Regions from separate parts of the Homo sapiens genome. Here all the other regions are linked to region 6. Evidence: promoter capture Hi-C in human tissues and cell types (Jung and others, 2019). All regions are on one chromosome and are shown on one strand. Each heading gives the region's core, a stretch centred on a gene start or on the middle of the fragment in contact. The rest is flanking DNA. Distances are from core to core; before and after follow the strand shown. Region 1 overlaps TSPAN9 (tetraspanin 9). Region 2 overlaps FKBP4 (FKBP prolyl isomerase 4). Region 3 overlaps ITFG2-AS1 (ITFG2 antisense RNA 1). Region 4 has its middle 17 kb from the start of CACNA1C-AS1. Region 5 overlaps NRIP2 (nuclear receptor interacting protein 2). Region 6 holds the start of TEAD4 (TEA domain transcription factor 4). Region 7 has its middle 5.3 kb from the start of LINC02371.

Evidence for each region. The method cuts DNA at HindIII sites, captures the fragments that hold promoters and counts their contacts. A contact is called where the count stands out against the background at its distance.
Region 1: a contact is called between a fragment that was not itself captured here and the fragment with the promoter of TEAD4 in region 6, in 1 of the 25 tissues and cell types used here (neural progenitor cells).
Region 2: a fragment that was not itself captured here is called in contact with the fragment with the promoter of TEAD4 in region 6 in 2 of the 25 tissues and cell types used here (IMR-90 fibroblasts and liver).
Region 3: a fragment that was not itself captured here is called in contact with the fragment with the promoter of TEAD4 in region 6 in 6 of the 25 tissues and cell types used here (IMR-90 fibroblasts, adrenal gland, aorta and 3 more).
Region 4: a fragment that was not itself captured here is called in contact with the fragment with the promoter of TEAD4 in region 6 in 2 of the 25 tissues and cell types used here (dorsolateral prefrontal cortex and small bowel).
Region 5: a contact is called between a fragment that was not itself captured here and the fragment with the promoter of TEAD4 in region 6, in 3 of the 25 tissues and cell types used here (liver, mesendoderm cells and neural progenitor cells).
Region 7: a fragment that was not itself captured here is called in contact with the fragment with the promoter of TEAD4 in region 6 in 2 of the 25 tissues and cell types used here (liver and pancreas).

The regions. Positions count from the first base shown.
Region 1 is chr12:3,086,778-3,090,676 of GRCh38, forward strand. The region is part of intron 2 of TSPAN9 (tetraspanin 9); the gene reads left to right. Among named protein-coding and RNA genes, the nearest start is that of TSPAN9, 11 kb to the left of the region's middle. The HindIII fragment of the contact is 5,075 bases long and covers 1-3,899 here.
Region 2 is chr12:2,803,928-2,807,946 of GRCh38, forward strand. FKBP4 (FKBP prolyl isomerase 4) reads left to right here. Exons shown (of 10, transcript NM_002014.4): 10 at 1-1,496. All of the region lies in intron 1 of ITFG2-AS1 (ITFG2 antisense RNA 1), which reads right to left. Among named protein-coding and RNA genes, the nearest start is that of ITFG2, 6.7 kb to the right of the region's middle. The HindIII fragment of the contact is 4,968 bases long and covers 1-4,019 here.
Region 3 is chr12:2,787,804-2,791,874 of GRCh38, forward strand. The region is part of intron 2 of ITFG2-AS1 (ITFG2 antisense RNA 1); the gene reads right to left. Among named protein-coding and RNA genes, the nearest start is that of FKBP4, 5.1 kb to the right of the region's middle. The HindIII fragment of the contact is 5,168 bases long and covers 1-4,071 here.
Region 4 is chr12:2,705,782-2,709,851 of GRCh38, forward strand. No RefSeq gene overlaps it. Among named protein-coding and RNA genes, the nearest start is that of CACNA1C-AS1, 17 kb to the left of the region's middle. The HindIII fragment of the contact is 4,465 bases long and covers 1-3,968 here.
Region 5 is chr12:2,825,053-2,828,979 of GRCh38, forward strand. NRIP2 (nuclear receptor interacting protein 2) reads right to left here. Exons shown (of 6, transcript NM_031474.3): 3 at 3,280-3,362; 4 at 2,874-2,995; 5 at 2,573-2,625; 6 at 296-2,247. The coding sequence ends at 2,155. ITFG2 (integrin alpha FG-GAP repeat containing 2) reads left to right here. Exons shown (of 12, transcript NM_018463.4): 12 at 1-24. Among named protein-coding and RNA genes, the nearest start is that of NRIP2, 8.0 kb to the right of the region's middle. RefSeq lists a silencer at 71-365. The HindIII fragment of the contact is 4,824 bases long and covers 1-3,927 here.
Region 6 is chr12:2,956,933-2,961,050 of GRCh38, forward strand. TEAD4 (TEA domain transcription factor 4) reads left to right here and starts at 2,465. Exons shown (of 13, transcript NM_003213.4): 1 at 2,465-2,549; 2 at 3,016-3,108. LOC124902859 (a long non-coding RNA gene) reads right to left here and starts at 3,116. Exons shown (of 2, transcript XR_007063159.1): 1 at 2,809-3,116; 2 at 666-1,293. RefSeq lists an enhancer at 2,635-3,370. The HindIII fragment of the contact is 29,957 bases long and covers 1-4,118 here.
Region 7 is chr12:2,732,788-2,736,683 of GRCh38, forward strand. No RefSeq gene overlaps it. Among named protein-coding and RNA genes, the nearest start is that of LINC02371, 5.3 kb to the right of the region's middle. The HindIII fragment of the contact is 3,130 bases long and covers 383-3,512 here.

The sequences.
Region 1 (3,899 bases), core at 1,206-3,705, 130 kb after region 6:
CAGGTTACAAGCAAAAATTAAAGTGAATATATTATTGTACAGCTGGAACAAGGTCCAACTGTGTCTGAGGCAACCCCCTTGAGCCCTCGTGGGCAGTGACCCTGGCTGTGCGCACACTTGGAGGCACGCCGCCTCCAATCATGGGGTGCACATGTTGCTGGAAACACACACAGTCTGGTCCCTCCCCTTGCAATGTGGGGAATGTGTCAGGTTCAGAGTCAGGGAGAGGGCCTCTGAGGACAGTGAACAGGTGAGGGAAGTGAGCTGGGGTGGGAGGGATTCTCAGAGCAAGATTGAAACAGGGTGCAGCCATGCACATGTGTGGGTGTTAGTGACTATGTGCACACTTGCCTTACATGTGTGTTGGGTGTGCTTGCATGGGTTTGTGTGGGAGGGCACTCTGCATTGTTTTGGCACTCAGTGGAGGGGCCCACGTGTGCACTCTCAATAGATCAGTATAGGCCAGACACAGTGGCTGTCATCTGTAGGCCCAGCACTTTCGGAGGCCAAGGCGGGAGCATTGCTTGAGACCAGCCTGGACAACATAGTGAGACCTCGTCTCTAATAAGAATAGAAAAAAAAATTAGTCAGGTGTGGTAATCAGTGTGTGCCTGTAGTCCCAGCTACTCAGGAGGCTGAGGCAGGAGGATTGCTTAAGCCCAGAAAGTTGAGGCTGTAGTGAGCCATGATCGTACCACTGCACTCCGGGCTGGGTGACAGAGTGAGACCCTGTCTCAAGAAGAAAAGGGTCCGGGCATGGTGACTCACACCTGTAATGCCAGCGCTTTGGAAAGCCAAGGCAGGCAAATCATGAGGTCGAGAGTTCGAGATCAGCTTGGCCAACATGGTGAAACCCCATCTCTACTAAAAATACAAAAATTAGCCGGGCTTGGTGGTGCGCACCTGTAATACCAGATACTCGGGAGGCTGAGGCAGGAGAATTGCTTGAATCTGGGAGGCGGAGGTTGCAGTGAGCCAATATTGGCCACTGCACTCCAGCCTGGGCAACAGAGCCAAGACTCCATCTTGGAAAAAAAAAAATGTCAGTATATACCTGTGATGTGAGTGCCTTCCCCTTAGATGGCAGGGTAAAACCTGGACACGGTACCTGGGAACCCTGCTGACGGCCTCTCCCCTGGCCACCTGCCAGTGTGGAGACTGAGGCTTAGGGGCCCAAAGCTCTCCGACAAGCCCTGAGGGTGGCAGTGCCAGGGACAGTAGGAGAAGATCCTGCCTCAGCAAGTCCCCAGCCCCGTCTCAGGGCCAGGCTCTACAGGAGGGCTCAGAGGGGCAGGGTGCCCAGCTGAGTTTGAATGAACTGTGTCTTTCCGGGTGTGTGAACATGCAGGATGACATGTTTTGTTTTAGAGAAAATGAGGTAGAGGTCTGGGCTTGCAATTTTCCACTTGTCTTAATCCTGGGAGATTCTAAACAGCTTTGTTTAAAAACTGGACATGCAGATTGCAAAGACCTGAGTGAGGAAGAGCCATTGGGTCCCCCAGGAAAACAATTAGGTTTGAAGCCAGAGTTTGGATTTGTTCGACCATTTTGAGTGCTGTCTGCAGCATGTGGGACCTGGAGGCGCTTACAGCATCACCCATGGTGTGAGTCACTCCAAATTAGCAGCCATTTCAAATTGGCTTCCACTGACTTGCTGCTGGGGATGGGTGGGGCTGGGGGGGAAGCTCCAGGCCTGGCTGTCACCCATCATCCAGGCTGTGGCCGGCAGAGAGGGGAGGGGGCTGGAACAACCTGTCTTGGCTCAGCCTGCCCCCACTGTTGGCCAGAGAAGCTGGAGCTGGTGGTCTGTGAAGGTCTCCTGGACGGAGCAGTTCGTGCCCGCAGTGCAGGGAGAACACTGGAGACCATGCAATTCAGGGCAGGGTTGGTGGAACTTTTTCTTGGCATCCATTTGAGAAACTCAGAGGGGATCAGGCTGGGCCTTGAGGGAGGGCTGGGATTTAGGGAGGGAAGAGAAGGGTCTCTGAGGGGTTGTAATGCTGGCTGGGAGCTTGGTTGGGGTGGGGACAGGTGTGGCCTGCAGGAGAGGGTGAGCTGTTCTGTCTGGGGCACCTGACATACTGCTTGGAGCAGCTCAGGCGCGGGAGGCTGGTGGTGGGAGCCAGTGTTGGTCTTTGAACAGTGGAATGACAGGATGAAAAGGGACACTATAGGCTGGGTGTGATGGCTCACGCCTGTAATCCCAGCACTTTGGGAGGCCGATGCAGGCGGATCACGAGGTCAGGAGATCGAGATCATCCTGGCTAACACGGTGAAACCCCATCTGTACTAAAAATGCAAAAAATTAGCCGGGCGTGGTGGCGGGCGCCTGTAGTCCCAGCCACTCGGGAGGCTGAGGCAGGAGAATGGCATGAACCTGGGAGGTGGAGCTTGCAGTGAGCTGAGATCGCGCCACTGCACTCCAGCCTGGGTGACAGAGCGAGACTCCATCTCAAAAAAGAAAAAAAAAAAGAAAAGGGACATTATAGGAAAAATTAGATTGTAGCAGAATTCAAGGTGAATTTTTTTTTTTTTTTTGAGACAAGTCTTGTTCTGTCCCCCAGGCTGGAGTGCAGTGGCGTGATCTTGGCTCACTGCAACCTCCCACTCCCTAGTTCAAGCGATTCTCCTGCCTCAGCCTCCCGAGTAGCTGGGATTACAGGCATGTGCCACCACGCCTGGCTAATTTTTGTATTTTTAGTAGAGACGGGGTTTTACCGTGTTGGCCAGGGTGGTCTCGATCTCCTGACCTCGTGATCCGCCCTCCTTGGCCTCCCAAAGTGCTGGGATTACAGGTGTGAGCCACTGCGCCTGGTCTCAAGGTGAATTTTTTTTTAAAAAGCATCCTTTTGGCTGGGTGTGGTAGCTTATGCCTGTACTCCCAGCACTCTGGGGGGCCGAGGTGGGAGGATCAGTTGAGCTCAGGAGTTTGAGACCAGCCTGGGCAACATAGCAAGATCCTGACTCTACAAAAAATTAAAAAACGTAGCCAGGCATGCATACCTGTAGTCCCAGCCACTCGGGAGGCTGAGGTGGGAGGGTTGCCTGATCCCAGGAGTTTGAGGCTACAGTGAGCTGTGATCACGCCGCTGTACTCCAGCCTGGGCAACAGAGTGAGATCCTGTCTCAAAATAAATAAATAAATAAATAAAATAAAAGCATCCTTTTTTTTGTTGCAAAATAATAAAAACTCATTATAATATCCAAACATTACATAAATTATAGAAGAGGAAAATCTCCCCTAATCCTACCCATCAGAGATAATCACTGTTAATACTTTGGTTTGTATTATTTCCAGATATTTCTGGATAGACTAGCATCCAGCCGTCCACCTATTTATCTTCTCAATTTCCATAAATAGAATTGAATTCAACTTACTGTTTTGCCCGTTCTTTAGGCATCTTTTCACATCAGTACATTCAGAACAACCTTATTCTTTTCCGTAGTTGGCGCAGACTTGCTGAATGGATTTTGTTCCATTCATCACTGAGGTCTATGCTGCATAGACCACCCCAAAATATAGTGGATTAACACAAACACCATTTTCTTTGCTTCCAGTTCTACGGGTTAGCCTTTTGGGCTGGTCTCTGCAGTCTTGCCTGGGCTTATTAATGCGGTAGCAGTCAGCTGGTAGCTCTGCAGGCCCTGGACAGCTCAAGGAAGCTTCATCATATATCCGGTGGTTGGTGCTGGCTGTCAGCTGGGCTCCCCTGCTACGTGGTTTCTCACTGTCAAGGAAACTAGCCTTTCAGGTGAAAACAGTCTACAAGACCTCTTAATATCTAGGCCCTGAAGCCTCACACACGCATTGTCTGTTGATTGCTGGTAACAGCAAGTCATGGGACCAGCAGAACTCCAGGGGCGGGCAGACTCCACCTCTTGGTGGGAAGGCTGGCCAC
Region 2 (4,019 bases), core at 317-2,816, 150 kb before region 6:
GTGGAAACAATAAAACCTGGGTGTCAGACAACCCTTTCTGTTCAGCCTTGGAGTGGTGGGTATGGGTGGGTACATAATGGGTAGTAGCACAATCAAGGGGTCACCCACTTAGTTCCAGTTGAGCTTAAATAAGTGAGCATCTCATGTAGATGCCATAGTTGGGCAGGAAGCAGCCCCACCATGCATGGCTTCCTGAGCACTGCACAGGCTGCCGCTGGGATTTGTGTCTATGGCTTCGCCCAAGGTTCCCAGCACTCCCTCCCTCCAGCAACCTGGCAGTTTTAGTGCCTCTGGTTTTCTTCCCTGACACTTAGGAAGACGAAAGTATAAAGATCTAGAAGACTGGGACACCATGCATGTTCATTTTGAAGTTGGAATTGGTCTTCTGCCTACCTCTGATCTGGCAGAGGTATCTGCATTTTGGTTTGTTAACAAGGTAAAACTCCTGGTGTCACTGACCTCCTCCTGTCAGATAACTTACATGATTAAGGTTAAGAGTAAAGCAGAGTGTTCACGTCCAGCTTCCTTCTCAGCCTTAACAGGAAAAGGCTTGTGCTTTTTTTCTAACTATGCTTTGACCCTTAACTCCTATGGCATGATGGGGCCCTGGGAGAAGCCAGGCAGCACAAGCCAGTCATGCTGAGCTGCCTCCAGATAATCCTGGCTCCAGGCCAGAGCCCGTGTCTGCCCTCATCCCTCTCTCCTACTGTGAGCTCTCCAGTCCTTTCCCAACAGCGATGTGGTTGTCTGCTTAGCCACATGCCTGTATAGTTCCTTCCAGAAGAAATGTATAATGGTGGAAGATGTATTTCTGTGTGAAAATTTTCACCAAGTCATACAACACAGCTGATGCTGGAGCCAGGATTAAAATTGGGGTGTACAAGTCTCCCAGTGTGAGTATCCCTTGAGCCCAAGACACCAAGGATGCAGAGAACTGTGACTGTGCCACTGCACGCCAGCCTGGGCAAGAGAGTGAGACCATCTCTTTTTTAAAAAAGTCCCTGTGTAACTGCTTTCTTACTGGGCTTACCTCACATCACAGCCCTGTGTTTGTGGTTTGTGTCTGGGTCCTCTTGGTATTTCAAAAGTAGTAGATTCTTACGCCTGCAGCCAACAATAATCACTAACTCAAGCATTTATGGAGTAAGCCTAGCACTGTACTGACAGCATCACATGAGTGAAACTGAATCCTTGCAACCATCCTACAAAGAAGGTATAACTTTAATAACCCTATTTACAGATAAGAAAACCAAGACTCAGAAGTTAAATGGAAAGGTGAGGTCTCTGAACTAATCCAGACTCTCCCATGAGGTTCCTTTGGCAAGTCCTGGGCTTCTGTCCTCATCTGCAAAATCGAAAGCATTCCTGAGGTTTCTTCCAGCTCTGCATCCTGTAGGATTCCAAGAATGTAAAACTGCATGTAACCGTGGAACATCTAGAGATAAGTCTTAGTTTATGTAACATTAAAACTGTCTAGTGAGGATGTTTTGTTAAAATGCCTACAAGTCTTTCAGCCTAAAAATAATCCTGCCACATACTCAAGTCTGCCCTGGGTCAGTGCTACAAGTTCATTTCCCAGTCAGTTGTCCCTGCCTACCGACACTTAAATCTTTCTATATGCAGAGAAATGTGCCTGAAGAAAGAAAAGTTAGTAGCAAGCAGTACTGTGAGCTTTTAACAAGCTTTGCAAGTGGTCTCTAGAAAAATTTAAAATAGGGTTTATCTTGCCCTAGTGCTGGTTCTAACATCGAGTTCCATGAATTTTATCTCCCAAGTATTTCTACTCCCTCCATACTAGTACCGCTCCCTCCCATCACCATGCACTCCAGCCTGCTCTCCTGCAAATCCCAGGCTCCTATCTGGGATTCCCTCCTGCCCCTCCTGCAGTTCACTCTGTACTGCATCCCAATCGTGTCCCTCCGAGTACTTAAATCACTTTCAATGATTACCCATCCCATTTAGGCTAAAGAATCCTTATCATGGCCCACAAAACCCTGCAAGGCTTGGCAAAGTGCACTTAACACTTGCCCTCACTCTATGCCAGCTTCGCCACCCTGAGGGTGAATGGAGGACTGTATTCCATTTCCATTGGAGAAAAAATATGTGAAAGGCACTTTATGCAGGACTAGTAAAGTGTAGTATCTTTTTAGAAAATGTCATTACTGGAAAAAGTTAGAAAGCAGAACTTCTCAAACCTTATTCCTGTTACGTCTCAGTGACTAATTTTCCCTTTCCAAATGCAAAACACCTCAGAACCTTAAAACAAGTTGAAACGACAATGCATTAAGGGCAGTGCTGAATACAACCAATGTAAGAGTCTGGACATTGTAAGTAAGGAAAATTTGTTCTCTTTCTGGAATTCATTATTGCTGCCTTATGGCTACAGTTCCCCAGCTGTTTGCCAACCTCAGATGATGTGGATGCATTAACTATCCCCAGTTAGAAAACCTAGAAATAATAAAAACATTAATTTATCCTGTGCTAAATAACACTACCAATTTTTTTAATTTAATTTATTTTCTTTTTTTTTTTTTGGAGATGGAGTCTTGCTGTGTTCCCCAGGCTGGAGTGCAGTGGCGCAATCTTGGCTCACTGGAACCTCCACGTCCTAGGTTCAAGCAATTCTCTCTCAGCCTTCCAAGTGGCTGGGACCACAGGCGCACGCCACCACGCCTGGCTAATTTTTGTATTTTTAGTAGAGACAGGGTTTTGCCATATTGATCAGGCTGGTCTTGAACTCCTGACCTCAGGTGATCCACCCGCCTTGGCCTCCTAAAGTGCTGGAATTACAGGCGTGAGCCACTGCGCCCAGCCTATTTTTTTTTTCTTTTTTTTGTTTTTTTGTTTGTTTGTTTGTTTAAGACAGGGTCTCACTATTTTGCCCAGGCTCAGTGCAGTGATGCAGTTACAGCTCACTGCAGCCTCGACCTCCTGGGCTCAAGAGATCCTCCCAACTCAGCCTCCGGAGTAGCTGGGAGGGACTACAGGCACATGGCACCATGCCCAGCTTTTTTTTTTTTTTTCCAGACAGAGTGTAGCTCTTGTTGCCCAGGCTGGAGTGCAATGGCGCAATCTCAGCTCACCGCAACATGTGCCTCCCAGGTTCAAGCAATAATCCTGCCTCAGCCTCCTGAGTAGCTGGGATTACAAGTGCCTACTACCATGCCCAGCTAATTTTTGTACTTTTAATAGAGATGGGGTTTCACCATGTTGGCCAGGCTGGTCTCGAACTCCTGACCTCAGGAGATCTGCCTGCCTAAGCCTCCTAAAGTGCTGGGATTACAGGCGTGAGCCATTGTGCCCTGCCATGCTATACCAATTTGAGAGGCAAAGTAAGAGTGAATGGTCTCAGGGATGATCAAGAAAAAGCAATGCCTTTGTGAATGTCAAGGGTCCTGTGGCTAGAAGAGAGGATCAGCATGTATATTCTATATTCCATTGGATCTTCAGTCTCCTGTTTTAGAAGTGCATCAGACATAAACTGATTTGTATTTTTTTAGGTGAAATTCACATTTTTAGGTGAAACAAAGTTAACCATTTTAAATTCAACAGTTTGGTGGCCATTTAGTCTTTACAGTGTTAATCTAGTTCCAAAACGTCTTCCTCATTCTTTGTGTTTTAACCCTGTCTCCTAATGTTTAAGTGACACAGTGACAGTGAACTTCTCATCCATCAGTAGTCTTGAGCAGACAATCCTGATGAGTTAGTTCTAGGATTAAAGCGTCCCAGAGTTGGTGGTGCATTTTAACAGGGGCAAACTTGAGGAAGGCAGTGAGACTTAGTAGAGCTCTGAATAACAGCATTTCACCCGGTGCAGAGCTGCCCCACACTACTCTGCCAGTTTCTAGGACAAAAAACCTAACTTTTCCAACAGTTTAATATGCTAAGGTGTACCATGAATGAGAGAGGGGAGGGGGAAATGGTGATATAAGCCAAACCAAGCCCATTGAGAAGCCATGGACCCTGCCCCCAAGGTGGTGAGGCTCTGGGCCTCATGTTTTGAAAGATACTTGGAGACC
Region 3 (4,071 bases), core at 305-2,804, 170 kb before region 6:
GTGATCTCGGCTCACTGCAACCTCCACCTCCCAGGTTCAAGCAATTCTCCTGCCTCAGCCTCCCAAGTAGCTGGGATTACAGGTGCCTGCCACCATGCCCAGCTAATTTTGTGTATTTTTAGTAGAGACGGGGTTTCGCCATGTTGGCCAGGCTGGCCTTGAACTCCTGACCTCAGGTGATCCACCTGCCTCGGCCTCCCAAAGTGCTGGGATTACAGGTGTGAGCCACCATGCCTGGCCAACAAAATCCTTTAAAATGGACCAAAGATTTAGACAAGTCTTTCACAAAAGAGGCTATCCAGATGGCCAATAAGTATATGAAAACTGTTCAACTTAATTAGCTATCGAGAAAATACAGATTATGTATTATGTATCTAGCTCTACATCCCCCAGGTGCACTAGAATGAAAAGGACTGACAATACCATGTGTTGGCAAGAGTGTGGACAAACTGGTGCTCTTGTACACATTCGGTGGGAGTGTAACCTGAACCACAACTGCAGGCAATTGTCAGTATCTACCAAAACCAAATATAAGGAACACCCAAACCCAGCAATTCCACTTCTTAGGTATCTACCAAACTGAAATAAGCACGTATGTTCATCAAGAGTCATGTACAAAAATATTCAGAGAAGCTTCATTCATCATAGCCAAAAACTGGAAGCCCCAATGTCATCAACAATAGAATGGATACAGTGTGGGGTGTTCAAACCATGGAAGATTACAAAGCAGTGACAGGTAATGAGCTACTCCTGTCTGCCACGAGATGGATGAATTTCACAAACATAATGTGGAAGGAAGGAAGACAGTCATAAAAGAGTCTATACTGTACGACCCCTCTTGAATGATGTGCAAAACAGATACAACTAATCTATTATGACAAAGGTCAGAAGAGTCGTTACTATTGGAGATGACGATTGACTGGGAGGGAACATCCAGGAGCCTTAAGGGTGCTGACATTTTCTACATCTTCATCTGGGTGACAGTTTTGTGGACACATACATATGGAAAAATGTATCAAGCTATACATTTAAGATATATGTTTTGTCCTTTTAAAAGTAAGTAAATATGATTTTCCATATTTCAAGCTCTTTCTCAAGTTCTAGCTCTTTGTGAGGACTTCCCAGAATACTTTTTCCAGATGCTGCCATTCTGCACTTTGAAACTGTGCCACACTGGCTAGTCCTGGGTTCTGCTCTACTTCTCTTTATAGGCAAGCTCCTTAAGGGAAGGTAGATTATGTCACAGACTCTGCACTCCACAGCCTCTGGTACAGACCTAGGAACCTAGTAGGTGCTCAATAAACATCTTTCCACCGGCTGGCCATCTACAGGAAGTATAAATTTGCGGGGGGAGGGGGCAAGCCCTGAGGACAGGGGCTGTGGGACGTTCTCCATCATTTTCCCCTCAAGGAAAGGAAAGAGAGGATGGTTGGGGTGCCACATAATTAATCAATGAAGCCCCTAGCAAACAAGGGCCCCTTAAAAAAAAAGATACCCCTCTTCTCCAAGGGCGTATGAGTCTAACGAGGGACAGATTGGTCTATCCAGGAATCTATGTGAGAATCCCCACCCCTGGCCAGGGCTTCCAGCAACCTTTCTTCCCATGAGAAAATTAAACCTGAGGAGGTAAACCCAACGAAAAACCAAAATAACTCCCCCAGAGGAGGCTACTCGTAGAGAGAAGGGCTACGTAACATCTCATCTGTGAGCCTATGTGAAGAGTGAGACTCAGAGATACAGTGAATACACATTTTGGCTAAATGCTAAAGGGACACATATTTAAGTCAATATCTGACTAAACAAAAACTATTACCAACAAAGAATGAACTTCCAGGATACAAGAATAAATATGAACTCTCAAATAAATTATTGTTCCTATTACAATTCATACCTTTTTTAAAAGTTAGCAGACTGATCATAGAAGTTGGATGTTATAGTGAAGGAACAATGATGTCTTAATTTCTCAATAATGACAGCTGCTGGATTGCTCTTGTGATCACTGCAGTGCACATTTATGATATTAAATATACATTTACTTTCAACTGAGGATGATGGACGTTCAGACTATTTTTCCCAAGTGGCAATCCATGTCCTAGTTATGCTAATTAGATATGATAATAACCTAGACACATACATGATGCTTTTTCATATGTAAAATTTTGTGTTTAGTTTTTGGTAGAGACAGGGTCTCACTATGTTGCCCAGGATGGTCTTGAATTCCTGGCCTCTAGCAATCCTCCTGCCTCAGCCTCCCAAGGTGCTGAGATTACAGGCATGAGCCACTGCACCCGGCCACGTGATCCTTGATCACACACAAGTTCAAGGAAGACAGAAATAATGCTGAAATCAACCTTTGGCTATTTGACCCTCTGAAGATCCAGGCCAAAGCCAAATTTCAGTGCATCCACAGATACAGTAGGATGAAGATTTGCTACTTCCTATCTCCCCAAGAGCAAAACAGAAATATGCGTATTTATCAGAAGGAAGAAATTAGATTTTATAAAAGGAAACAAGCTTTGTTTCAGCAGGACAACCACCAAATATCCCATTACCTCCTCTCAAGGAGATCAGCTAATGGTGGGATTCATGGAAGTGTTGACACCAAGTCTACCTTTAAGGGGCTTTCAGTCTTGTTGGAATGACAGAATATCAGCAGGTGAAGCTACTGTGAGTTACATGAGATAGTCAAGTTCATAGTCAAGTGTCCAGGTGCATAAAGCACAGATGTAATTTAACATTAGAAGAGAAGCACTCCTCTGGAACTAATGGAGCAAAGCCTTATCTAGACCAGTGGCTTTCAACTTCAGGGCTGGAGTCTTCCACATCTTCAACTGCGTATTCCAAGGCCCGGGTCCTGTGGCTCATGTCTGTAACCCCAATACTTTGGGAGGCTGAGGCGGGCAGATCACCTGAGCTCAGGAGTTCGAAACCACCCTGGGCAACATAGTGAGACCCCGTCTCTACAAAAAATAAAATTACTGGGTGTGGTGGCATGTACCCGTAGTCCCAGCTACTTGGGGGACTGAGGTAGGAGGATTGCTTGAGCTCGGGAGATTGAGGCTGCAGTGAGCCATGTTCACGCCACTGCACTCCAGCCTGGGTGACAGAGCTCGAGAGCCTGTCTCAAACAAACAAAAAACACAACTGCATATTCCAGCAATCAACAGGCTGAAATGTGGCACACACACTACCACTCACCTACGCCCTGTGTACCATATACAAGTTCAGGTACTTCACATGTAATATCCCATTGCCAGTCTCAGTGGCTCACACCTGTAATCCCAGCACTTTGGGAGACCAAGGAGGATCACTTGAGTTCAGGAGTTCAAGACCAGCCTGGGCAATACAGGGCGATCCCATCTCTACAAAAAAAATTTTTTTAAGTTAGCCAGGCATGGTGGTCTGTGCCTGTGTAGTCCCAGCTATTCCAGAGGCTGAGGTGGAAGGATTTGCTTCAGCCTGGGAGGCGGAGTCTGCAGTGAGCTGTGATGCACGACTGCATTCCAACCTGGGCGACAGCGTGTGACCCTGTCTCCAAAAAATAAATAACCCATTTAATCTTCAGAGAAAACCCCTGAGAGAAAGGCATTATCATGACAGCCATTTTAGGGACAAGGAAACCTTCCTCCAGGACTCACACGGTGAGTTCAATGATGAAGCTGAGATTTGAATCCAGGTAAAGAGCTTGTGCTGGAATTGGAATCCAGGAGAATCCAATCCAGAGCCCATGAGCTTAACCTTCACGCAGGTCTTCACTATGCACAGGCCTCACATAGGGGCCTACTATTTTTAAATTGTATGAAAATGGGACTAAAATCACTAACATAAATAAATGTTTTAAGAAGTATGTAGAGGCCGGGCACGGTGGCTCACGCCTGTAATCCCAGCACTTTGGGAGGCCGAGGCAGGTGGATCACGAGGTCAGGAGATGGAGACCATCTTGGCTAACACGGTGAAACCCCGTCTCTACTAAAAATACAAAAATTTAGCCGAGCATGGTGGTGGGCAACTGTAGTCCCAGTTGCTTGGGAGGCTGAGGCAGGAGAATGGCATGAACCCGGGAGGCGGAGC
Region 4 (4,070 bases), core at 486-2,985, 250 kb before region 6:
CTGAAAATACAATACTTGAAATGAAAAATTTGCTAGGGTGATTTAAAGTCAGATTTGAGCAGGAAGAAGAAAGAATCAGTAAACTTAAATATAGGACAATGAAAATTATTGAGTCTGAGGAACACAGAAATAAAATATTGAGAAAAGTAAACAGAGCCTAAAAAGACCTGTGGGACACCATCAAGCAGATTAATGTACACATTGTTGAAGTCCAAGAAGAATAAGAGAGAAAGAAAGGAGAAGAGATAACATATGAAGAAATAGTAACTGGAATTTTTCCAAATTTGACTAAAGACATGAATATAAATATCCAAACTTAACAAACTCTAAGTAAGATGAAAAAGACCCATACTAAGACATCTTATAGTTAAGTTTTTGAAATATAAAGAGAGACTCTTAAAAGCAGCAACAGAGAAGTGACTTATCACACACAAGAGTAGTCTAAGCAAGATTAACAGAAAATTTCTCACCTGAAACTTTTGAGGCCAGAAGGCAGCAGGCCAGTATTTTCAAAGTGCTAAAAGAGAGAGAAAAACAACTGTCAGAGAAGAATTCTATATGTGGCAAAATTGTCCTTCAAAAGTAAAGAAGAAATTAAAGCATTCCCAGATATGCAAAAGCTGAAGGAGTTCATTACCACTAGACCTACCCTGCAAGAAATTCACTCCTGCAGGGTGAAATGAAAGGACACTGGGCAGTAATTTGAAGCTGTATGAAGAATAAAAGATCTCAATGAAGTTAAATACATGGGCAACTATAACTCTGCTTTTTCTTTTCTACTCCACTTTTTATTTTCTACTTGATTTAAGAGACTAGTACTTAAAAAATACTAATCTAAAAGGTAGTATTATTATAACTTTAGTTTGTAACTCAACATTTTATTTTCTACATAATTTCAAAGACTAATGCATTTTCCAAAATTATTAGTTTGTGTTTTGGAGCACACAGTGTATAAAGATGTAATTTTGGGACAGCAACAACTCAAAGGGCTGAGGACAAAGTAGTAAAGAAGCAGAGTTTTTATGTTATTGAAACTAAACTGGTATAAATTCAAATTACAGTGTTATAATTTTGAGAGTTTAAGTACAATCCCCATGGTAACCACAAAGAAAGTTGCTATAGAATATACACAAAAGAAAATTAGAAAGGAATTTAAGTGCTTTACTCCCAAAAAAATCAACTCAACACAAAAGAAGACAGTAATATAGGAAATGAGGGACAAAAGAAGGTATTAGAAAACAAATGGCAAAATAACAGAAGTAAGTCCCTCATTAGTAATTACTTTAAATTTAAATGGATTAAACTGTCAAATCAAAAGACAGAGATTGGCAGAATGTATTGAAAAATATGAGCCAACTATATGCTGTCTGCAAGAGACTCACTTAAGATCCAAAGACACAAAAACAGACTAAGAGTGATAGGGAAGATATTCTATGCAAATAGTAACCAAAAGAGAGCAGGAAGGGCTACACTAACATGAGAAAAAATAGACTTTACATTTTAAAAAGCTTACAAGAGACATTATATGTTAATAAAAGGTTCAATACAGCAAGAAATTATAACAATTATAAACAGTTTCACACCTAATAAAAGACCATCAGTATATGTGGAACAAAAACTTCAGGCAGAATCAAAGGGAGAAATAGACAATTCTACAATAACAATTGGAGATTTCAATACTCCAGTGCCAATAATAGATAGAATAACCAGAGAGGATAAATAAGGAAATAGAGGACTTAACACAATAAACCAACTATATCTAACAGACATACAGAAAACGTTATTCAGTTACACAAGCATACAGATTCTTCTTAAGAGTACATGGAGCGTTTTCCAGGGTAGACCATATGTTAAGCCACAAATGAAATCGCAATAGATTTTAAAAGTTATCATACAAAGTATCTTCTCCAACCACAGCAGGATGAAATTAGAAATCCAAAATAGAAGGAAAGTTGGAAAATTCACAAATTTGTGGAAATTTAACAGCACACTCTTAACTATTGAATCAAAAAAGTAGATATCACAAGAGAAATTGGAAAATAGTTAGAGACAAATGAAGACAAAAACACAACATACCAAAACCTATGGAATGCAGAGAAAGCAGGGCTAAGGAGAAATTTTATAGCTATAAGTTCTTACATTTAAAAAAAAAAATCTTAAATTAACAACCTCTCCTTACAACTTAAGAAATTATAATGAGAACAAATTAACCAAAAAGGAGGGAAAATTATAAAAATTAGAACAGTAATAAATGAAATAGAGAATGGAAAACAATAGAGAAGGACCAATGAAACCAAAATTGGTTCTTTGAGAATATCAACAAAATTCACAAAGTTTTAGCTAGACAGACAAGGAAAAAAGGAGAGGAGACTTAGATTACTAAAATCAGATATGAAAGTGGAGGCATTACTACCAATTATACACAAATCAAAAGGACTATAAGAGTACTATGAACAATTGTACACCAAAAAATTGGATAACCTAGATGAAATAAACAAATTCCTAGAAAAACAAGACTCACCCAGACTAAATTACAAAGAACTGGAAAATCCACATCATGCTATAACTAGTAAGGAGATTAAATCAATAATCAAAAATCTCCCCATAAAGAAAGACCATGAACCTGATGGCATCACTGGCAAACTCTACCAAACATTTAAAGAACATCAATACCTGTCAAACTCTTTCAAAAAAAATTGAAGAGGAGAGCACACTTCCTATCTCATTCTTTGAGGCCAGCATTACCCTAATACCAAAGCCAGACAAAGATACTACCAGAAAAGAAAAATACAGACCACTGTCTTTTATAAACATTGATGCAAAAATCCTCAACAAAATACTAGCAAGCCAAATTCAGCGGCATATTAAAAGGATTATACACCATAACCAAGTGGAATTTATTCCTGGAATGCAAAGATGGTTCAACATATGAAAATTGATCAATGTAATAGACCACATTAATAAAATAAAGGGGAAAACACATGATCATCTTCATTGGTGCAGAAAAAGTATTTGACAAAATTTAATATCCTTTCATGATAAAGACATTCAACAAACTAGCAATAGTAGGAAACTACCTCAACATAATAAAAGCCATATATGTAAAGCCCACAGTGAGCACCACGCTCAATGATGAAAGACAAAAAGCTTTCCCTCAAAGATCAGGAACAAAGCAAGGATGCCCACTTTCACCACTTTTATTCAACATAGTACTGAAAGTTCTAGCCCTAGCAATTAGACAAGAAAAAGGAAAAAGTCATCTGAATTAGAAAGTATGAAGTAAAATTAGCTCTGTTCACAGATGATATTATCTTCTATGTAGAACATACTGAGGATTCCAGACACCAAAAAAGTTAGAACTAATAAACGAATTCAGCAAAATAACAGCATATAAAGCCAAAGCACAAAAATCAGTTGCATTTCTGTACACTGATAATGAAAAATCTGAAAAAGGAATTTTGAAAATAATTCCATTTACAGTAGCATCAAAAAGATTAAAGTACTTAGGAATTAAGTTAACCAAGAAGATAAAAGACTTATACAATGAAAACTACAAAACATTGCTGAAAGAAATAAGAAAGACATAAATGGCAACATACCCCATGTATGTGGATTAGAAGAATTCATATTATTAAGGAGTGAGTGCCACTGAAAGTGATCTGAAGATTCAATGCAATAACTACCAAAAGTCCTAAGGATACTTTTTGCTGAAGTAGAAAAACCCATCCTAAAATTTATATGGAATCTCAACAGACATCAAATAACCAAAACAATCTTGAAAAACAACAAAGCTGGATGACTCACACTTTCTGATTTCAAGACTTACTATAAAGCTACAGTAGTCAAAATAGCATGATAATGGCATACAGACAGACATACAGACCAATGGAATAGACTCCAGTGCCCAGAAATAAACCCTGTATATAGTCAGCTGATCTTTGACAAGGGTGCCAAGACCATTCAATGGGAGAAAGAACAGTCTCTTCAACAAATGGTTCTTGGGAAAATGTATATCAACATGAAAAAGAGTGAAATCAGACCCCTATCTACTACCATATACAAAAATTAAT
Region 5 (3,927 bases), core at 577-3,076, 130 kb before region 6:
AGTAAAATAGAAAATAGCAGAGTACATTGCTCTCAGTGTAGGTAAGTATTGTTTTGTTAGTCATATGTGCATGTGTGTACTGAGTGCCATGTAAAATGTATTCCTGCTGTGGTAAGCTGTGGTCGAGGAGTTTGAAAGCCATTGCTTTCAAATTCCTCTCAATTATACTGACCCTAGTCAGATGGGTCAGCCTGGGCAAGGGCCCACATTTACATTTCCTTTCTGTAAGGGACAATGGGCAATTATCACTCAGCTCTTGATAGGCAGGGAGGAAGACCAGAGAAGAACATCGACATAGAGAAACAAGAGTTTATTCCAATGGAGAAGCAGCTGAGCCGAGGGCTTGCCATTGGGCCTGGGGTCTGCAGTTACAGAAGCAGCAGGAGGCAGACAAGGAAAGGCACAGCACAAGACCCAGGAAAGTGGACCTTGTGGAGCAAGGCAGTGAGGGCGAGGAAAGCTTTTAGGATTTTGAGACCAGGTGCTATGGCACAAGTGATAAGTGAGCCCTCTCCTTTCCTTCTGAGGGCAGGGGAGGCAGCTGAGAAAGGGCAGGGGAGGCAGCTGAGAAAGGGCAGGCCAGGTGTCACAGGCAGCTCCTTGCATCCCGGTTCTTCTCTAACCCAGTCAACCCCAGGCTCAAGACTGTTTCAGCCCAACGGTCCCAGTTCCCTTGTTCAGGTTAGCTGTACCACTGTCTTTCTCTGCTCCTTTTTTGTTTGTTTTTGGAGACAGGGTCTCACTCCTTCACCCAGGCTGGAGTCCGATGGCACGAACTTGGCTCACTACAACCCCCATCTCCCAGGTTCAAGCAACTCCTATGCCTCAGCCTTCCAAGTAGCTGGGATTACAGGTGTTCACCACCATACCTGGCTAATTTTTGTATTTTTTAGTAGAGATGGGGTTTTGCCATATTACCCAGGCTGGTCTCAAACTCCTGACCTCAAGTGATCCACCCACCTCAGCCTCCCAAAGTGCTGGGATTACAGGCATGAGCCATTGCGCCTGGCCTCTTTCTTTACTCCTAATCCATGATTTGAGAGACTCAAACCAGCCAGAAAGACTCTCAGGGATCTGGCGTCTTAAGGTTCGGGTTCTTCTCTTCACAGTGAATTCAAAAAAGCCTCTGTCTCCTGACAGACCCCAAACTTTAAAAAAAAAAAAAAAGCCTCTGTCTTTTTGCTTTGGCAAAGCCTGGCAGGGGGTTAGAAAGCCACTGATTCCAGGACAATACAAGCTTAAGCTCAAGAGGCCAGAGATGGGGATAGGAAGAAGGCCTAATGAGGTGGATAGTTCTAGAAATCAGAAAGAATGCTGAATAGGTGAAGTCTGAGTGGTGACAACCTCACTGTCCTGTCTGCCTCACAGGAGCAGTTCTCTACAAGGCTCTTCCACACACACACACGCAAGGCTCAGGGGCTCGGTGGGTACAAAAAGCCAGTGGAAACGGATAAATACCTATAGCGTTAATAGCAGAAGTATGTCCAAGGTTTTGCACAGGGTAATCAAACTAACTGGCTTCAGACATTTGCAGCCACAGGAAAAAATAGCTCTCAGCCTTATGAGATGGACATTCCTATACTAACTCCCGCTCTTTGTTGTATTGAATTCTGGCTGTTTCTTCCCCCACTCAACTGTGAGCAGATGTGCACAGACTCCGAGAGGCAGACACCAGGAGGTCCAGGGACATAGGTTGGTGAGGCATGGCGGTCTAGTTGTGGGAGATAATGAGGCCCAGAAGGTGTGGTGAGAGACATGGTGGTGTGGGAAGTTGAGTTGTGTTTGGGGTGGTATTGGGTGATGGACAAGGACAGCAGTCAGCAGAGCCTTCGACCCAGCCCAAGCAGGCACCCCATTGTGCTTAGGTTCCTATCTGTGGTCTTGATTTGGCTTTGCTTTTCTTGGGAGGAAGATGAATCAGAATCCTGGCATCGTGGGCCCTCTAGTGAAAACTCGTCCTGGGGAGTAGGACAGCTGCTGAGAAGCAGAGAGGAATGCGGCCAGCTGGGGAAAATGGGACAGCAGGGGTCAGGGAGGTGATTGGAAGGGCAGACACCATAGTCCCCAGCTACCTGGCTTCAAGAGCCCCCGTTCCCCACACGCCTCTTCTTCTAAGGCAAGGTCTTTCCCTCTGGGGACTGACTGAGACAGCAGTCACTGGCCAGGCTCTTGGTACAAAGGCAGGAAGGGTAGCTCTGAGAACGGGGCTTTCAGCCGCAGCACTCCGTGCTCCAGGTCGATGCAGCACTGCGGGGTGTAGAGCAGTCATGCCAGGTCACCTCAGCCCGCCACCTGCCTCCCGGCCTGCTCCTTTTGTTCCCCCTCCCACTTCCCACAGCTTCCACCTGCCTTTTGCTCTTCCCCCATCCCCATTTCCCTAGACTCCTGTTGAAGGGGGTGACCCAGTTCTCTTGATTTTTCACTTGGTGGTAAGTAAGGAACCTCTAAGGAAGCAAAGGGACAGTTGCCCATCTCTAAGTCACTCTCATCAGAACCTGGTCCAGGTTCCACACCTGTGCCTTCTACTACTTTTTCCCAGTGCTTTGGGTCAGGCCCTGAGTGGGTGCCTTACCTTGAGAGAAAGCAGAGTCTGCAGGCCCAGGCAGAATTCAGGACTCTCAGCATCTATAGGAACAATTTGAAAACAGAAGAGGCTGAGGGTTCCCAGTGGTCACTGCTGCCCTCCTCTTAGCCGTTGCTCCTTCTCTGCCCACCCCATCCCCAGATCCGAGGACACTGGCACAGAGATGGGGGATAGTCAGAACATCTCTGGGAACTCCTCGTGCTGCAGGGAGTGAAAGTCTCAGCCTTTGCCCCACCCCAAAGAGAAAGGTGAGGTGAGCACCAGGGCTGTTGCAGAAGGGGGGACTTACCCACCACCTGTGCCGAGCACACCACAGTCTCCTGCCCCAGCTGTAGCTCCAACTGCTCCACCTGGGTTGGGGGCCCAGGGGCCAGGTCCCCAGCTGAGGCTTTTAGGACCCTTTTCTCTAACCTGTGGTTGGGAAGCAAGGGTTATGGCTACCACAGCCCCTAGAGGGTTCCACCCCATTAATCAGCAGGTGTCCCTCTCTACTATGGTTTCATCTCCAACCCCTGACCTCACGTGGGGTCTAAATCCTTGCCTTCTCTGCCAGAGTCTTCTAGCCACTCTTTTGTTAAATAACAGCTTTATTGAGATAAAATATGCAACTGTCGTCACTATCTAATTTGAGAATATTTTCATCACCCCAAAAAGAAACCCTGTCCCCCACTTGCTTGTTTGGGCCACATTCTTACCCCAGGCGGCTGAGACATCCAGCAGAGATCCGATTGTATTGGGTGCCTGTGTCAACGGCCACTCTAAGCAGCTGGTCCTGGCACTAAGAAAGAAGAATCGTGGTGAATCAGTGAGTCCCTAGGAGAATGGGTTGGAATTGGATCCTTCAGTTTCCCAGCCCATTGATGATTCCCTCCTAGAAATGAGTGGAGAAAATGAACTGTCTTTAAAACTGGCTTTTATCGGGGCCAGGCGCGGTAGCTCACGCCTGTAATCCCAGCACTTTGGAAGGCCGAGGCGGGTGGATCACCTGAGGTCGGGAGTTCAAGACCAGCCTGACCAGGGTTTAGTAGAAACCCTGTCTCTACTAAAAATACAAAATTAGCTGGGTGTGGTGGCGCATGCCTGTAATCCCAGCTACTCGGGAGGCTGAGGCAGGAGAATCGCTTGAACCCGAGAGGCGGAGGTTGTGGTGAGCCAAGATCACGCCATTACACTCCAGCCTGGGCAACAAGAGCAAAACTCTGTCTCAAAACAAACAAAAAAACTGGTTTTTATGAGACTCATACAATAGGGGCAGAACTCCCAGATAAATAAATCAAAAAAGGAAGTGGACCAGGTGCGGTGGCTCATGCTTGTAGTTCTAGCACTTTGGAGGCAAGAGGATC
Region 6 (4,118 bases), core at 1,215-3,714:
CCAAAGTGCTGGGATTACAGGTATGAGCCACTGTGCCCAGCCCTGAATTCTTATCTCACTTACTGACACCAACCATTGTTCAGCTGTTAAAGGTTAGCGATTTTTGTTTTCTCTCTCACTACACAGCCAAATGATCTGAACCGTTTCCTAGCTCCTTCCCCTCCTCCTCAACCTCAGGACCACTGCTTGAGTTTTAGGGCACCCCGAGTCTCCAGTTCAACTGCAAGACTGTTGCAAGACGGTCTTCTTGATGGTGCTGCTGATTAAGTCACACTTGTGTCTTTTTTGATGCCTAACTCTTCAGCATGGCACGCAATGACCTTCAAAGTCTGGTATCCACTTCCTTCAATCTTATTATCCACATCTCTATTCTCCAGCCACACCAGTTTACATAGCTTCGCTAAACACACCAGCAGACTGGCTGCCTCACCTTTGTAGGTGCTATTCCATGTGTCTTAAATGGGGTTTCCAGTCTCAGTTTGGCAAACCCTCATTTATCCTCAAGAGCTAGATCAAATGCACTGTAATTGGATTTCACTGTTCCTTCCCTTGGGTTCCCATTGAACTTTGCATAATTGTCTGTCTTCTCACCTAGACTGGAACTACTTGAGGAAAGGGACCTACTCCTTCCCTTAGTGCGGTGTCAAAGTCAACAAACACTCCAATGATTGCTGAATTAATATAATTATTATTAATTACTTTGAGACAGGGTTTCGCTCTGTCATCCAGGCTGGTGTGTAGTGGTGCATTCACGGCTCACTGCAGCCTCAACTTTCTGGGGTCAAACTATCCTCCCACCTCAGCCTCCTGAGTAGCTGGGACTACAGGTGCAGGCCACCATGATGCCCAGGCTGATCTCGAACTCCTGGGCTCAAGCGATCCACCTGCCTCGGCCTCCCAAATTGCTAAGATGACAGGCGTGAGCCACCGGGCCCCCCATGATTGCTGAATTAAATAGTTGGTGCTTAGTGTGTACTTCACGTGGCGCTGATATGCTGCCTTGCGTTTTGGTCTTTTCATGTGCATGAGGTGTGACCAAGCCTTGATATGATTCATTATTTAACAAGAATACCACAATTCATCTATTCAAATGAGGGCTGCGTCTTCAACGCCTTCACCTTGCAGGACTGGATGCTTAGCTCAGTCATTGCTTGAAACACTTTTGGAATACCTCTCTTGGAAACAACTTTGGCATCGATAGCACTTTCCTTTCAATATCTTCCACGGTAGCAATTGTTTTTCATTTATGCAGCATTTATCATGCACTTCCCTATCCCAGGCACCAGGCTGGATCTGTGTGAAAGATAAGATAAATCAGACATTACTCTGTCTTCAAGGAAGTTTCTGTTTGGCAAGGGAGATAAGATCTAGACAACCACCCAACACAAGGCTAAGTGATAATGCCCCAGAAAAGGTTGGATTTGATTTTTGGAAAAAGCCAAAAGTCCTTTGGTTTCAGTCTCCTGGCCAGGTAGATGATGGCGCTACCTGCCAGCACACTGCTTTAAGCCCGTTTGTCCTAAGCGTCTCCAAACAAGGAGCCCAGCGTGTTTCCAGCACCTCCTGCCCCAATAAGAGACTCCTGGGCATGTGTGTCTGAAGTCCAGACTCTCACCGATGGCAGTATACACCGAGGCCTCCCCAGCTAAACTCTGAGCTCTTTGAGGGCAGGTGCTGACGGCTGATCCTGATCTTCACAGTATCTGGACTCATCACACATCTTAGATGAATATTCATTGAGTCACTGAGCCCAGAAGGCGTCCCATGGCATGCCACATGGACTTCAAACCGAGTGCCCTTTCTCCCATGTGGTTTACTCGTAGTGGCGGTTTTACAGATGCCCAAGGGGCAGGAGAGAAAAACGGAAAGAGCTAAAGCCGGGGAGGGCAAGCGAGGGGGCACTGGCAGCGGATCTGGGAATGGAGCCCGCGAGTTCCTGCTTCCTGGTTCCCCGGAGCAAGTGTCCTTTGGTGGGAGCCGCAGGAAGGGAGCAGCCCTTCCTGCGCGCCGGGAGCCCGCCCCTTCCCCGGCCTCCCAGGGACTCGTGCGGAGGGACGCCGGGTGGCGGGGCGGGAGTCTGGGCCCCGTCCACCCCCCCGCCCCCGGGACAGCCCCACCCCGGCGAAGAGGAAGGCTCTCGGCTCCTGGGAAAGGGAGTCGGGACCCCGCCAGGAGGGGAGGGCGCGGGGCGCGCAACGAGCAGCCAAACAGTCGGAGCGGAGAGATCGAAGGGCTAGTGGGCGTGGGGGCCGCAGCCGAGGCCCGGGTGGAGGGGTCCCCGCCGTCCCTCGGCCCCCTCCCCCGCCGCCCGCCCCGGCCCGGCCCGGCCCCGCCCCGCCCCGGCGGCCCGGCCCCTCGCCCGCCCGCGCGCGGCGCAGTCTCCTCCCCGAGGTGCCGGTGGCCCCGCCGCCACTCCCTCCGGCTCCCTCCCTCCCGCCGCGGCGCGCATCTCATTCCAGCCCTCATTCCGCGCATTCCAGCGTCCTCCTCGCACACTCGAGGCCAGGGGGCGGGAGGGCCGCAGCTCCGGCGCCGCCGCGTCCCGCCAGGTGAGAGGCGCCCGCGCCCGCCGCACCCGCCGGCGCCCTCACGGGCCGCGCGCCCCACGCCGCCGCAGCCGACCGCTCGCGCCGCGTGCTCGGCTGCTCTTTTCTTTCCGCCGCCCGCGTTCCCGCCTTGGACCTCTGCGCTCCGACGCGCTCCGTCCCGACCTCTGGCTTCCCTCCGCGCTCCGGCGCTGCTCGCTGCCCCTCTCCCGCTTCCCTCCTGTCCGCCCCGCGCTCCCCTCCTCGCTCCCGGTTGACTCACTCCTCCAGGAATAGGGATCCCCGTGTTTTCCCGTCAGTCCCATTCTGGGAAAACTCCTCCCTCCGCGCGCTCCGCTCCGCTCCGCTGGGCGCACCGGGGCCGGTCGGCGCGGGGTGGGCTTGGCCCCGCGGCCCCGCCTTCACTGCGCCGCCCGTCGGCCCCGGCCGGAGCCCGGCTCTGCGCGCTGACGCCCTGTCGTCCCCGCAGAACGATCGCCGCGGCCGGAAGAGTTGGCGCTCGGGGCGGACTCCTTGGAACTGGCTTAGCGCACCCATCCCACCTTCCCGCACCCTGGGACCGGTAAGGCTGGGGCGCGGGGACTTGGTAGGACTTTGCCGGAGGGCAGGAGTCTGCGCGGTGCGTGCGGAGCTCCCTCCCGGGACGAGACTGGGAAGAGCGAGGCACGTGGAGGCGGCGCGACTGAGGCTGCTGGAGGCGAAGCGGCTCCAGGGGCGGGTAAGGGGGGTGGACACTCGGGACTTTGGGGGAAAGGGAGGCCGGTGTGGAAAGGACCGGAGAGGCAGAACCGAGAGCATCGGCAACAGAAGAGACCCAGCACCCATGCCTCTTTTCTGCTGGGCCCTTTTCGAGCCTGGAAGGGAGAGACCTGGAGGTAAGCGGACTGCCTGTTTTAAGTGCAAAGGCGATGCGAAAGTCGGGGGACCCCTGCAAAAGGTCCTACACCTCAGGGCTTGGGAAGCTGCTGTGTTTCCTGATGGGGACTAGTGGATCGATCCAGGGAGCAGAACTTTCAAACCCCAAAGTGAACATTTCCCCCGTTGTGCTGAGGCACTTGAGGCCCCGCGGACTGACTGCGTCTGTGCTGAGTCTGTGTGACACCTGACTGCGAGTCCCCCTCGCTTTGAGTCTCTGTGTGGGTGATGTCTGTTCACGTGTGGCTCACCTTGGCTTCCAGTGGGCGTATTTGTTTGTGTTGAACGTGAGTGACAGAGTGTGTGTATATGTCTGCGTGAGAAGGGGCTGTCTGAAAGTGAGTATCTCTGAGTAGGTGTGTGATGCCACGTCTCTTGAGTATGTGTTTCTCTTCGAGGATGTTGGTTCTGGCTAGGACTGTTCTTCCTCCCTACATAGCCGTGGGCAAGAGTCAGTGTCTCTGGTTGCCTGAGTGCAGGGATAATTTGACTGTGGTTTTGGAGTGTGTGGCCTCCAGGCTCCGTTTCCCCTGGACCGGGCAGAGCTGGAAGGAAGCTGGCTCCACCTGCCTCTTGGAGCCAGGAGGCTGACTTTCTCAGGGCGAGGGTCTTGTGCTTGCCTGGAATAGGTCAAAAAGCTGGTAGGAGGCTGAAGGA
Region 7 (3,896 bases), core at 698-3,197, 220 kb before region 6:
AGCGGACACCAGCCTCCATGCTGCCTTCAGCTCCTCACCTCAGATTCACCCTCAACTGCTCCCACCTGGTGAGGTCTGACCGCCCTCTTCTTCAGGCAGGTGATGTGCTGCTGTAATTAAGCAATGTGAATGACTAATTCACTGTTGTGCTTTGTTTTTATCTTGCCTGGAATAGCAGAGCTACATGGGTAGTTAGACTAATTCTATTACACTGGGTTCATGGTACATTTCTTTTCCTTTCCCCATAGTTTTAATGGTTACTTTATAGTTTGATACCACAGATCATAGTATAAGCGACCATAAAGTCTTTGGAGCTAAAAGTTCTAGAAAGACAAGGAGAGACACACCTGGTTCAGTTTGTATTTAACTCAAAAAGCAATTTCAAGGCAATGATGATATAAATTATAGCCCAAAGTGTGAAAAAACAATATGTAGCCATTTAATTCTAAATCCCCAGTGATGGGCATAGAGAAGCTCTCAATAAATGTTTGTCAAGTGTGTAAATGAATGATATAAAGTCAAAAGGGAAAACCACAGATGTTACATGCTTGACAAACAGCATGGCCAACTGTGCGTGCCTACCGACACACACCAGACACCTGCACAGAGAGACGAAACAGGTGAAGCATGGGATGAGGAGCTGCAGGCTGATATCCTTTTGTTGTTGTTGTTGTTTTTTGTTTCTTGTTTAATAGCATCACAGGGAATACAAGGTGGAGGGGGCGTGCCAGAGTGCTCTGCAATACAGTTCTACGCTCTGTGTGTTCCATTTGGTAGAAAACATGGTTTTGGTTCTCTATTCCCATACCCCTTGATGGCAGGAGAGATAAGGTCTCCTTGCAAAACTCCTACCAGGCGGGAGCTGCGGGTATGGTCATCTTTGGAAACAGTCTGCCACTGGGGACTTTAAGGACGTTTCCTTCCTGAAGTTGCAGGAAATCCTATCAAGGCACTTCTGTGATGGTGGATTATTCCTAATGATTCATGGGCCAGCAGGTGGGGCTGCATCTGGCTGGCCTACTCTGTCCCACATAGCGTCAGCCTGGGTGTTCTTGAATGAAGTCCCAGTGGCCAGCAGCTGGGCTAAGCTGAGGATCACTCACACGATGCCTGCCTGGTCCATACACGTCCCCCCACCCCGACCCCTTGCCTGATTGCTCTGGCTGGGACTTTCAGTACTATGTTAAATAGGAGTGGTGAGAGTGGACACTTCCTAACTCAATCTCTTATCTTGAGTTTCTTCGTTGTGTGGCAACTGGTGTCCCCAGAGACAGGATTTCTGTCATGGCACGGCCTCAGAAGCCACTCAACCTCACTTCTGCAGTCTCAGACTCAGGGGAAGGGGAAGGGAAAGGGATGCTGACAGACGCTCCCCCTTGATAGGAGGAGAGATAAGATCTTCTTGCAAAAATCCTGCCAGATGGGAGCTGCAGGTATGGTCATCTTTGGAAACAGTCTGCTGCTGGGCCTTTAAGGACGTTTCCTTTCTGGACCTGCAGCAAAGCCTATTTCAAGGCACTCTTGCTTAGCAGGCAGCCTGGTGAGTAGACTCTAAGAACAGTTTCATGAAGCCCTGGGTGTTCTTTTTAAATATCTCAGTTGACATGAACACAAAAATGAGCAGCTGGGTCTGGAGCAGGTGGAAGAGTAACCTGAGGCCATCTAGTGGCATTAAGACCAGCCATGGTGGGGACCTTTATGCGACCTGCCCACCATGGGCTCTGGAATCTTGACCACAGCCCCTAGCAGGGGACCCTGATCCATTTCTGTCTCTCTACAGTATTACCTGGGGGTTTTAGTTTTGTCACTTGGAATTGCATAAACAGTGTTTTAGTACAGTTATTTTTATTGGGGTAAAATATACGTAACACAGAATTTACCATCTTACCCATTTTGGGCAACATGACACAGTGGCATTAAGCATGTTCACATTGTTGGGCAACTGTCACCACTCGGGAGGCTGAGGCAGGAAAATTGCTTGAACCTGGGAGGCGGAGGTTGCAGTGAGCTGAGATCACGCCACTGCACTCCAGCCTGGGCAACAGAGCAAGACTCTGTCTCAAAAAAGGAGAAGAAGAAGGAGAAGGAGAAGTGAATTCATACAATATTTGTTCCTTTGTGTCTGGCTTATTTCACTTCACGTGATGCCCTCAAGGTTCATCCATGTCATAGCATGTGTCAGAATTCCATCCCCTTTCAAGGGTAGATAATATTCCATTGTATGAGTAGACCACACTTTTATATATTCATTCATCAGGGAATGCTTGAGTGGTCTCTACCTTTGGGCTATTGCGAATAAGCCTTCTGTGAACATAGGAGCAGAAATATTAAAAATGATTCATAAAGGAAAATTTATTCAGCCAGTACTTGAGCATCTGTTCTGGACCAGACGCTGTGCCAGGGACCACGATAAACAAAACTGTAGGCACAGCCAACCGTCTCCTGGAGCTCAGAGCCTAAAGCGGACAGAGAATCAGTGCGGTGAGGTAACCGTCAGGACAGGAGGAACAGGTGCCCCGTGGACACATGAAGCCTGACCCAACTCCAAGAAAAGGCCCCAGAGGGTGGTGTGACTTGGAATCTGGGATCTGAAAAGTCAGACCGGGGCAAGGATGTGGGAGCAAACAGGAGTGGGCAGAGAAAGAGGCAGAGACCCAGGAGCATCTGAGTCTGAGGGTGAAACTTGTAGGTGAGTGGCAAGCACCCAGGCCAAGGGACATGGGGGTTAGAGTGGGTGGTGTCGGCCTTGTGAGCCTGTTAACAAGCTTGGGTTTATCTTAAAATCATAGAAGTCACTGAAACATTTCAAATAAGGAAGTGACAGGATCTAGTCTACATTGTACATGATCAGCCTGTCTGTGGTGTGAGTGGATTTGAGTGGATAAAGGCAAAAGTTCAGGCAGGAAGCTATTGTTCACAGCCAAGCCATCAAGGACAGAGGCCTGAGCTCATTGACTAGCAGGGAAGGAGACAAGGCACAGTTGGTGGGGGGTGACTGAATCCAGGAAGTGAGAGAGAAGTTGGCACTAAGGAAAGAAAGCCACAGGTAGTTATTAAACAGTGGATTCAAGCATAAATCCAGGTGCGGTGAAATATTGATGCTGTCGAGTGGGATCTGGTGCTCATGTTCAGTTCTCTTCCAAGGACCTGGGGATATCTTGGTCTTTGGTCAGATTTTTCTTCATCAGCCTCATTCCCTGCAACCTGTTAGGCCTCCTGGATGACGCATATCCAAAGAGTTACCATTTTCGGAGCATAATCTATGTCCTGTGAGCCTCAAAACAGTCTATAATGAATCGATTTGTGTCCCCCTAAAATTAACATATGGAAACCCTGACCCTTAATATGACTACTTGAAGATAGGGGCTATAGGGAGGTATAAAGGTTAAATGAGGTTGTAAGCATGAGACCTTAATCTGACAGGACTAGTGTCCTTACAGGAAAAGGAACAGATGTTACAGATGTCTTTCTCTGCGTGTACATAGAGAAGAGGCCACGTGAGGACACAGCAAGAAGGCAGCCATCCACAAGCCAGGAAGAGACCCCTCCCCAGAAAACAACCCTGACAGCATCTGAATCTCAGACTTCCAGCCTCCAGAACTGGGAGAAAATGCATTTCTGTTATTTAAGCTACCCAGTCTGTGATATTCAGTATGACAGCCCAAGCAAGCTATGCACAGTCTTTAAGAGGTAGGCATTATCATCCCCGTTTATAGATGAGGAAACAGGCTCAGAGAGATTGACTTGACTAAGATCCACAGGTGGTAAGCTGCTCATCCGCTGCCCTGCAGTGGAGTCTTCCTTATAGCAAGCCTTTTGTTTTTGCAGAGAACTTTGTAGGCATATCTTTGAAGAACCACCCATTTGACAACTCTATTTCTAAAGCTCCAGCAGTG